Regions from separate parts of the Homo sapiens genome. Here region 2 is linked to region 1. The links are contacts of gene promoters, found by promoter capture Hi-C in blood cells and fetal thymus (Javierre and others, 2016). All regions are on one chromosome and are shown on one strand. Each heading gives the region's core, a stretch centred on a gene start or on the middle of the fragment in contact. The rest is flanking DNA. Distances are from core to core; before and after follow the strand shown.

What was found. The method cuts DNA at HindIII sites, captures the fragments that hold promoters and counts their contacts. A CHiCAGO score of 5 or more calls a contact.
Region 2: the fragment with the promoter of INCA1 here is called in contact with a fragment that was not itself captured in region 1 in 4 of 17 cell types (monocytes, M1 macrophages, M0 macrophages and 1 more); the score reaches 6.0 in monocytes.

Annotation. Positions count from the first base shown.
Region 1 is chr17:4,744,364-4,748,186 of GRCh38, forward strand. ZMYND15 (zinc finger MYND-type containing 15) reads left to right here. Exons shown (of 14, transcript NM_001136046.3): 10 at 6-104; 11 at 262-415; 12 at 507-565; 13 at 852-1,012; 14 at 1,456-1,750. The coding sequence ends at 1,627. Among named protein-coding and RNA genes, the nearest start is that of CXCL16, 6.3 kb to the left of the region's middle. The HindIII fragment of the contact is 6,114 bases long and covers 1-3,823 here.
Region 2 is chr17:4,996,272-5,000,022 of GRCh38, forward strand. INCA1 (inhibitor of CDK, cyclin A1 interacting protein 1) reads right to left here and starts at 1,251. Exons shown (of 7, transcript NM_001394789.1): 1 at 1,225-1,251. It overlaps KIF1C (kinesin family member 1C), which reads left to right and starts at 1,679. Exons shown (of 23, transcript NM_006612.6): 1 at 1,679-1,885; 2 at 3,579-3,699. RefSeq lists silencers at 992-1,081, 1,122-1,991, 2,042-2,141 and an enhancer at 3,384-3,751. The HindIII fragment of the contact is 6,815 bases long and covers 1-1,837 here.

The DNA.
Region 1 (3,823 bases), core at 241-2,740:
TTCAGGAGCTTTTGGTCCTGCTCCCCCATGTGGCCCTGGAGCTGCAGTTTGTAGGTGATGGCCTGCCCCCCGAAAGCGACGAGCAGCATTTTACCCTGCAGAGGGTGAGGGCTGAGGGGGCCCTGCTTTTCAGCCCTGACCCCTCCAGTGACCTCCTGGTTGGGTCCTGCCCTTCTGCCCCCCACTCCCCATCTTGCCTGGTGCATCCTCCAGTTCCCTGACTTCCAGTGGCTTTTCCACCCCACTCCTGGGGCCCCTCAGGACAGCCTGGAGGTGTCTGTCCGGCCTGGTTCCGGCATATCAGCACGGCCCAGCTCTGGCACTAAGGAGAAAGGGGGCCGCAGGGACCTGCAGATCAAGGTGTCAGCAAGGCCCTACCACCTGTTCCAGGGGCCCAAGCCTGACCTGGTTATTGGTAAAAGCCTGGGTCTCAGGGTTAGGCATGTGGGGAAGGTGGGAGAGAAGCCCACCGTGGGAGCCAGCTTCTCCCTCCTCTCTGTCTGCAGGATTTAACTCCGGGTTTGCTCTCAAGGATACGTGGCTGAGGTCTCTGCCCCGGTTACAGGTGGGCAATGGGGGCAAAAGGGAACTTCTCTCCCCTCCTGCCTGGCCCCTCCCCATCTCCTTTTCTGAAAGTCTCTGGGCTCTCCTCCTCTTCACCATCACCTGCTCCACAAACCTGGGGAGTGCCCACGGGTCCCCCTGCCTCTCTCTGTGTCTGTCTCCGTCCTCCCCCTGCTCCCCTCCGCCCGGTCTGTCCGGGGACCTCGGCTTTCAGCCCGGTCTGTCATTCTGGCTGCTGGGATGGATTTGGGGAGGGGCCTCTCAGAGCGACTCTCGCTCCACCCCAGTCCCTCCGAGTGCCAGCCTTCTTCACCGAGAGCAGCGAGTACAGCTGTGTGATGGACGGCCAGACCATGGCGGTGGCCACTGGAGGGGGCACCAGCCCTCCCCAGCCCAACCCCTTCCGCTCCCCCTTTCGCCTCAGAGCGGCCGACAACTGCATGTCCTGGTAAGGGTCTGCGACCCTATTTCCTTCCTGACCCTTAACTTCTCTTACTCTCTGGCTCCACATCCTCGAAGGCCCACCTCTACCCTAGTCCCTGCTGTCCTGGGGCCCTCCTGCCCCCAGCCCAGCAACCTGCCTTCTCTGTCCCCACTACTCGTCGCCCCCATGGGAGGTCTCGACATCCCCCAGCACACCCCTCTTTAGATCTAGCTCACGGAATCTCCCCAACCCACAAAAGACCCCGCGACCCTCCAACAGACCCAACCCTGAGTCTAGCCCCACGCCCTGGAACTCAGAGGGGCAAGCCCCGCCCCCTGGTCCCTGACCGCCCGGTGGAGCCCCGCCCCCTGGTCCCTGACCGCGCCCCTGGGAGCCCCGACCCCTGGGAGCGCCGACCCCTGGGAGTCCCGCCCCGTGGTCCCTGACTGCGCCCCGCGCCCCCGCAGGTACTGCAATGCCTTCATCTTCCACCTGGTTTACAAGCCTGCTCAAGGGAGCGGGGCCCGCCCGGCGCCCGGGCCCCCACCCCCATCCCCAACTCCCTCTGCTCCTCCTGCCCCCACCCGAAGGCGCCGAGGAGAAAAGAAACCTGGGCGGGGGGCCCGCCGGCGGAAATGAATGCTGATACCCTAGTAGTCCCCAGCTCCCAAACACTGAAAGGAAAACGTGAAAACACTCAAGGCCTAGGGGGAGGACAGGTTGGTAAAACATGAAAAGGTAAATAAAATTACTTGTTTGAAACCACTGAGTCATGGATCTTTTGATTACACGCTCATAATTGGGCCATTAAACTGGGAACGAAGAGAAAGATTTTTTTGTTTGTTTGTTTTTTGAGACGGAGTTTCCCTCTTGTCACCGAGGCTGGAGTGCAGGGGACACGATCTCGGCTCACTGCAACCTCTGCCTCCCGGGTTAAAGCGATTCTCCTGCCTCACCCTCCGGAGCTGGGATTACATGCATGCGCCACCACACCCGGCTAATTTTTGTATTTTTAGTAGAGACAGGGTTTCGCCATATTGGCCAGGCTGGTCTCGAACTCCTGACCTCAGGTGATCCGCCCGCATCGGAAAAGGAGTTAGGGATGACTTACTTTCCCCCAGACCCTTTTAGTCCCCTCAACGGCTGTCATTTCTTTAACTCACAGTCAGGGATTGTGACCCTCCTTGGTAATCCCATGGTTCTCCTAATTATGTGTTGGCTAGTCACTTTCCAGCCCCGGTAACCCTCAGGGACCGGCCCCAAGGCAAGGAAAGTGGCTTCTTCCTGGGGGCGGGAGAAGCAATCAACCTCCTGGGACCACACAGATCCTTGGTTTGGATTCAGTGAAAGGCCCCAGCCACCCAACTCCACCTTTTCTCACCACCTCGTATTCAATAATCAACTCCTGCTGAGCTCTTCTGAAATCACTCAAGTCCATCAAGGTATGTCCATTCCTGCTGCAAACTCCACCGTATCTCATCGCCACATTGCAGCCCAGAGTATTCCTCCTCAAAAAAAGACATCTGAGGGCCGGGCACGGTGGCTCACGCCTATAATCCCAGCACTTTGGGAGGCCGAGGCAGGTGGATCACCTGAAGTCAGGAGTTCGAGACCAGCCTGGCCAACATGGAGAAAACCCCGTCTCTACTAAAAATACAAAATTAGCCGGGCATGGTGGCACATGCCTGTAATCCCAGCTACTTGGGAGGCTGAGGCAGGAGAATCGTTTGAACCTGGGAGGCGGAGGTTGCAGTGAGCCGAGATCGCGTCATTGCACTCCAGCCTGGGGGACAAGAGTGAAACTCCATCTCAAAAAAAAAAAAAAAAGAAAAGAAAAGAAATTAACCGGGTGTGGTGGCATGGGCCTGTAATCCCAGCTACTCAGGTGGTTGAGGCAGGAGAATCATTTGAACCTGAGAGGTGGAGGTGGCAGCCAAGATCGCGCCACTGCACTCCAGCCTGGGTGACAGAGTGAGACTCTGTCTCAAAAAAAAAAAAAAAAGACATCTGACCTCATTTCTCCCTCGCTTCAGTCCCTTCAGTGACTTCCCTTAGCTCTTAACAGTGTGGGCTGCCCTTAATGACTTCAGTCACTGAGTATAGATAGGGAAAAACAGAGGAGAAACCTGGCAGATACCACCTTAACCAAGGGATTAAGGTGAACAATTAAGTCCTGTTGATGTTACTCTTTTTTTTTTTTGAGAAGGAGTCTTGCTCAGTCGCCCAGGCTGGAGTGCAGTGGTGCAATCTCGGCTCACTGCAACCTCCGCCTCCTGGGTTCACGCAATTCTCCTGCCTCAGCCTCCCAAGTAGCTGAGACTACAGGCGCACGCCACCACGCCCAGCTAATTTTTGTATTTTTAGTAGAGACAGGGTTTCACCATGTCGGCCAGGATGGTCTCAATCTCTTGACCTCGTGATCCGCCTGCCTCGGCCTCCCAAAGTGCTGGGATTATAGGCGTGAGCCACCGCACCCAGCCCTGTTGATGTTACTCTTAAGTCTCTTTCATTTTGTAACATACCTCCTTGGCTTTTATTTTTTATTTCATGACACTGATTTGACAAGACACAGAATCATTTGTCCCGTAAAATGTTCCTCACTCAGGAGCTGGCTGATTACTTCCTCAGGGTGTTTTTTCATGTGTTCATTTATCTTCTTCAGTTCCTGTCAACCAGTAGTTAGATCGAGATGACAAGGTTCTGCTGATGTGGTCCCTGCCAACCTCTGCAGGCTGATCTCATGCCATTTCCTTCCCCTGTCAACTCTGCAGCCAGATGCTTCTAAATAAAGACGCGCTCTCTCACTGTGGAACTTCCCATGTGTTTTTTGTTTTG
Region 2 (3,751 bases), core at 1-2,500, 250 kb after region 1:
AAGGCTGAGGTGGGAGTGTCATCTGAGCCCGGGAGGTCAAGGCTGCAGTGAGGTAAGATCGCACCACTGCACTGCACTCCAGCCTAGGCGTCAGAGTGAGACCCTGTTTCTAAGAAGAAAAAAAAAAAAGCCAGGCGCGGTGGCTCAAGACTGTAATCCCAGCACTTTGGGAGGCTGAGGTGGGCGGATCACTTGAGGTCAGGAGTTCGAGACCAGCCTGGCCAACACAGCGAAACCCAGTCTCTACTAAAAATACAAAAATTAGCCGGGTGTGGTGGCAGGCATCTGTAATCCCAGCTATTCGGGAGGCTGAGGCAGGAGAATCGCTTGAACCCAGGAGGCGGAGGTTGCCGTGAGCCGAGGTCAGCCTGGGCAACAGAGCAAGACTCCGTCTCAAAAAAAAAAAAAAAAAAAAAAAAAGAATACTAGATAAGTTAGGAGAGAGTGCACATAGGCTCCCGAAGGACAGAAGCAGCCAGCTGGAACTGTAGAGGTGAACTAGTATTTATCCAAGGGAACTAGGGATGGGCTGGGAAAGCAGGTGAGGTCAAAAGCGGAGAGAAGTATACCGTGCGGAAGCGGCAGATGGGGCTAGTTGGAGTTGGGCTGAAAGGGCCTAAAGTGGGGTCTAAAGGGGATGTCCTGACTCGGAGGGGGGTCAGCAGAACGCGAGGGAGCAGCGGGAGCTGCGGGGCATTCGGGCCTCAGATAGTTGGGTCCAAGCGGGTGACCTAGATCCAAGGGCAGGATGGAGCTGAAGGAAGCCAGGAAGGATCCTCCACAGTTGACTTCGGGGTAGCCACGGCCTGCGCCTGCGAGGGTGGATGAGGACCCGAGGGTCCGGCTGGGGCTGAGGGGCTGCCTGGAGCCCCGCTGGAGGGAAGCGCCGGGCCGGAGGGCGCGGCCTGCGCCTGAAAGGGCGACGGGGACCCTCGACAGGTGGACCGGGCGTGGCCGGACCTTCCGGGCAGCCCCGCCCGAGGGCACGACTGGGGGCTGCTTCCCTCGAGAGGGGCCCTGAGGTGGTGGGCCCAGGCTGAAGGGCAGGCTGGGGCCTGAGGGACGCCCCGGGTCTGAGAGGGCAGCTCCGGCCTTAGGCGGCACCCGGGCCTGAAGGGGTTGTTTGGGCCTCAGGCGGCGTCCAGGGCGGCCGAACTTGAGGGCCAGGCGGGGACAGAGCGCCCGAGTAGCCGCGCCACGGCCGGCCGCATTTGGCCCCAGCACCTGAAGCAGCTGCGCGGCGAATTCTAGAACTCGGCGGGGCGGGGAGGAGAGAGACGGCGATTCGAGCCGCGGGAGGAGCCGGCGGGCGGTGCTCGTCTGAGGGCGGGGCCTGAGCGGAGCCACCTTCTGGGCGGGCCTCGGCAGGAGGCTCCGCCCCCTGGACGCGCCTCCAACGGCGGCGACGGGAACTGGGCCGGGGCCTGGGTGCCCCCGCGGGTCAGCCCCCGACGTTTCCCTGTTCTTCAGGCGTCTGCAACCCTCCTGGGTTGCGGCGTCTGCTCGCCCTTCTGCGTCCGCAGCTCGGTCCCCACGTTCCCGCTCGCTGGGCCCCACAGGCCAGGAGCGTTGCCCCTTTAACAAGAGTAGCCCGGGTCGCTCCCGGCTCCTTCCCGGGACCGCGCGTACCCGCCCCTCCGCGCGCGCTCGCGCGTCCCCCGCCCCTCGCTCCCGCCCCAGCTCGCGCTGCCCGGGCGGGCGCCGGCCGCTGGCGCCGCTACTGCTGCCGCCCCCGGGGCGCGAGTCCGCCGCCCGCCGCCCGGGCACCCGGCGAGGGGCGGGGGCAGCTCCGAACCGGCCCCAGATCCTTCCCGCTTCCGCCTCACGCTTCCCGGAAAGCTTGTCCCTCTCCGCCGAGCTGCTCCGGGAGCCCCGCCGCGCCGAGGTGAGGGCTGGGGAAGGGGGAGGGAAGGGACGCCCGCGGAGGAATGTGCCGGGTTGGGGGGCGGGGAGCCGGGGTCCGGCGGCGCGATCTAGGCTCAAGAGTCGGGATCATGTGCTGTTTGTTCCGCGGAGGCGCAGAGAGGTGCCAGGCCCGGGCGGCCGCCGGCTGGCTGGACAGGAGGACGGGTCCGCATGGCCGCCCTGAGAGGCCGGGCGGGGACCTGTGTGAGAACCGCCGGGTGGGCAAGGTGCAGGTGGCCCAAGACCCCCTTTCGGGCCGGTCGGCCCCACCCCAGCCGCCCAGTATCCTCCTTGTACCCCACGGCTCCTTCACAGCTGCACCGGCCGACCCCTGTCCCTACCTCTATTCCCTTACCCCGCTGGCCCCCAGCCGTGCCACCCCATCCCTGTCCCATTAGCTGCAGCAACGGCGTCACCATCGCTTGTCCCCACCAGTGTCCTTCCCTCCCCTGGTCAGGGTCTAGGGGGTCAGGGCTGTTCTTCCTGAGCCAGCTTCTGTGATTCCAGCTACTCCCTTCCTGTCCTGGGACAGACCAGCCCCTCACCCTCCCATGCTCTGCCCAGGAAGACTGGTGAGGGGAGGCCCAGCGTGACAGGAGTTTGGGGTCCACTGGGGCCACAGGAGGGGGCTCCGCATCCCTTATCCTTCGTGGTCCTCCTCCCTGTTGTCCGTGGGCGTGGGCTGCTCAGCCTCTCCTCCCAGGGTGTGGGCACCCGATCACCCACATTCCTGGGCTCCAGCCTGGCACCTTCCCCAGGGCAGTGGACGCCATAGCACTAGCCCCAGGTTGGGGCTGGCACCAGCCAGCCGGCTTCCTTTTCTTTCTCCCTTTTAGGGAGGCCCCAGGGACCCTCTACCCTCAAACACAGGTATTTCTGGGCGCCCCAAGGGTGGAGCCCTGAGGGTTGGTCTGATGGCTACAGGATGACCCCACCCTCCCCTGCTCATTGTCCCGGATCCTGAGGAGGAAGTGCTGGGGGCTGGGCAAGGGGCTTAGAGCCCACACAGCTGGCCCTGTGGATCCCAGTCCTGGGCCCTACCTACAGTCCTTGGACTTTGCCCATCTGCACTACTGGCCTGGTGCATGGAGGTTGTGGGCCTCAGGTGGAAACTAGATTCTCCCTTGCCGACACTGTGGGGGAATTTGAGGACAGGTTTTGCATTTGCAGTTTCCTCTCTGGTCTCTCTTCTGGGCTCCCAGTTTGTGCTTTGGCGCCGGAGTTCCCCACCCTGTCTCTTTAACACCGTGTGTTTGCTGTGCTGTGTCTCTTCCTCCTTTCCTCTCCCATTCTTTCCTTCATAGCATGACCTCAGGCTTGCCTTTTGTCTTATTTCTCTAATTTTCTTGGTGTCTGTGACTCTCTGCCCCTCCTCTCTCTCTTCCCACCCCCCTCACGTCTCTGCCCATGTGCCCCTCTCTCTGAATTGCCCTCTGTCCAGCCTCTTTCTCTCTCTGTCCTCTATCTGAACGTTCAGTACATTTGCGAGTGACAAGGAATAAAAATATCACCGTCCCTGCCCTTGGATTCACATTGCATTCAGCCACTCTAGAGGGGCAGCTGTCCGTACTTTTCCTGCTATTCCCCCCGTAACCTTGGCCCTCCAACCTGGGAACCCCAGACGGGTCTCTGGAACCACAGGTGCCTTCTAACAACTCTTCCCCCGCAATCAGGGTATCTCCCAGAGCCCCAGCTGGTGTGGCCAGGCCCCAGGAGTAGGATGGGGCTCCCCCTACGAGGGCCGGTGGCAGCCAGAACTGATACAGCCCCCCTGGTCTGGGGCCAGGACGCCAGGTAACTGGGGGAGACCGCCCAGGTTCCTGCAAGCTGGAATATGGCTGGGGAG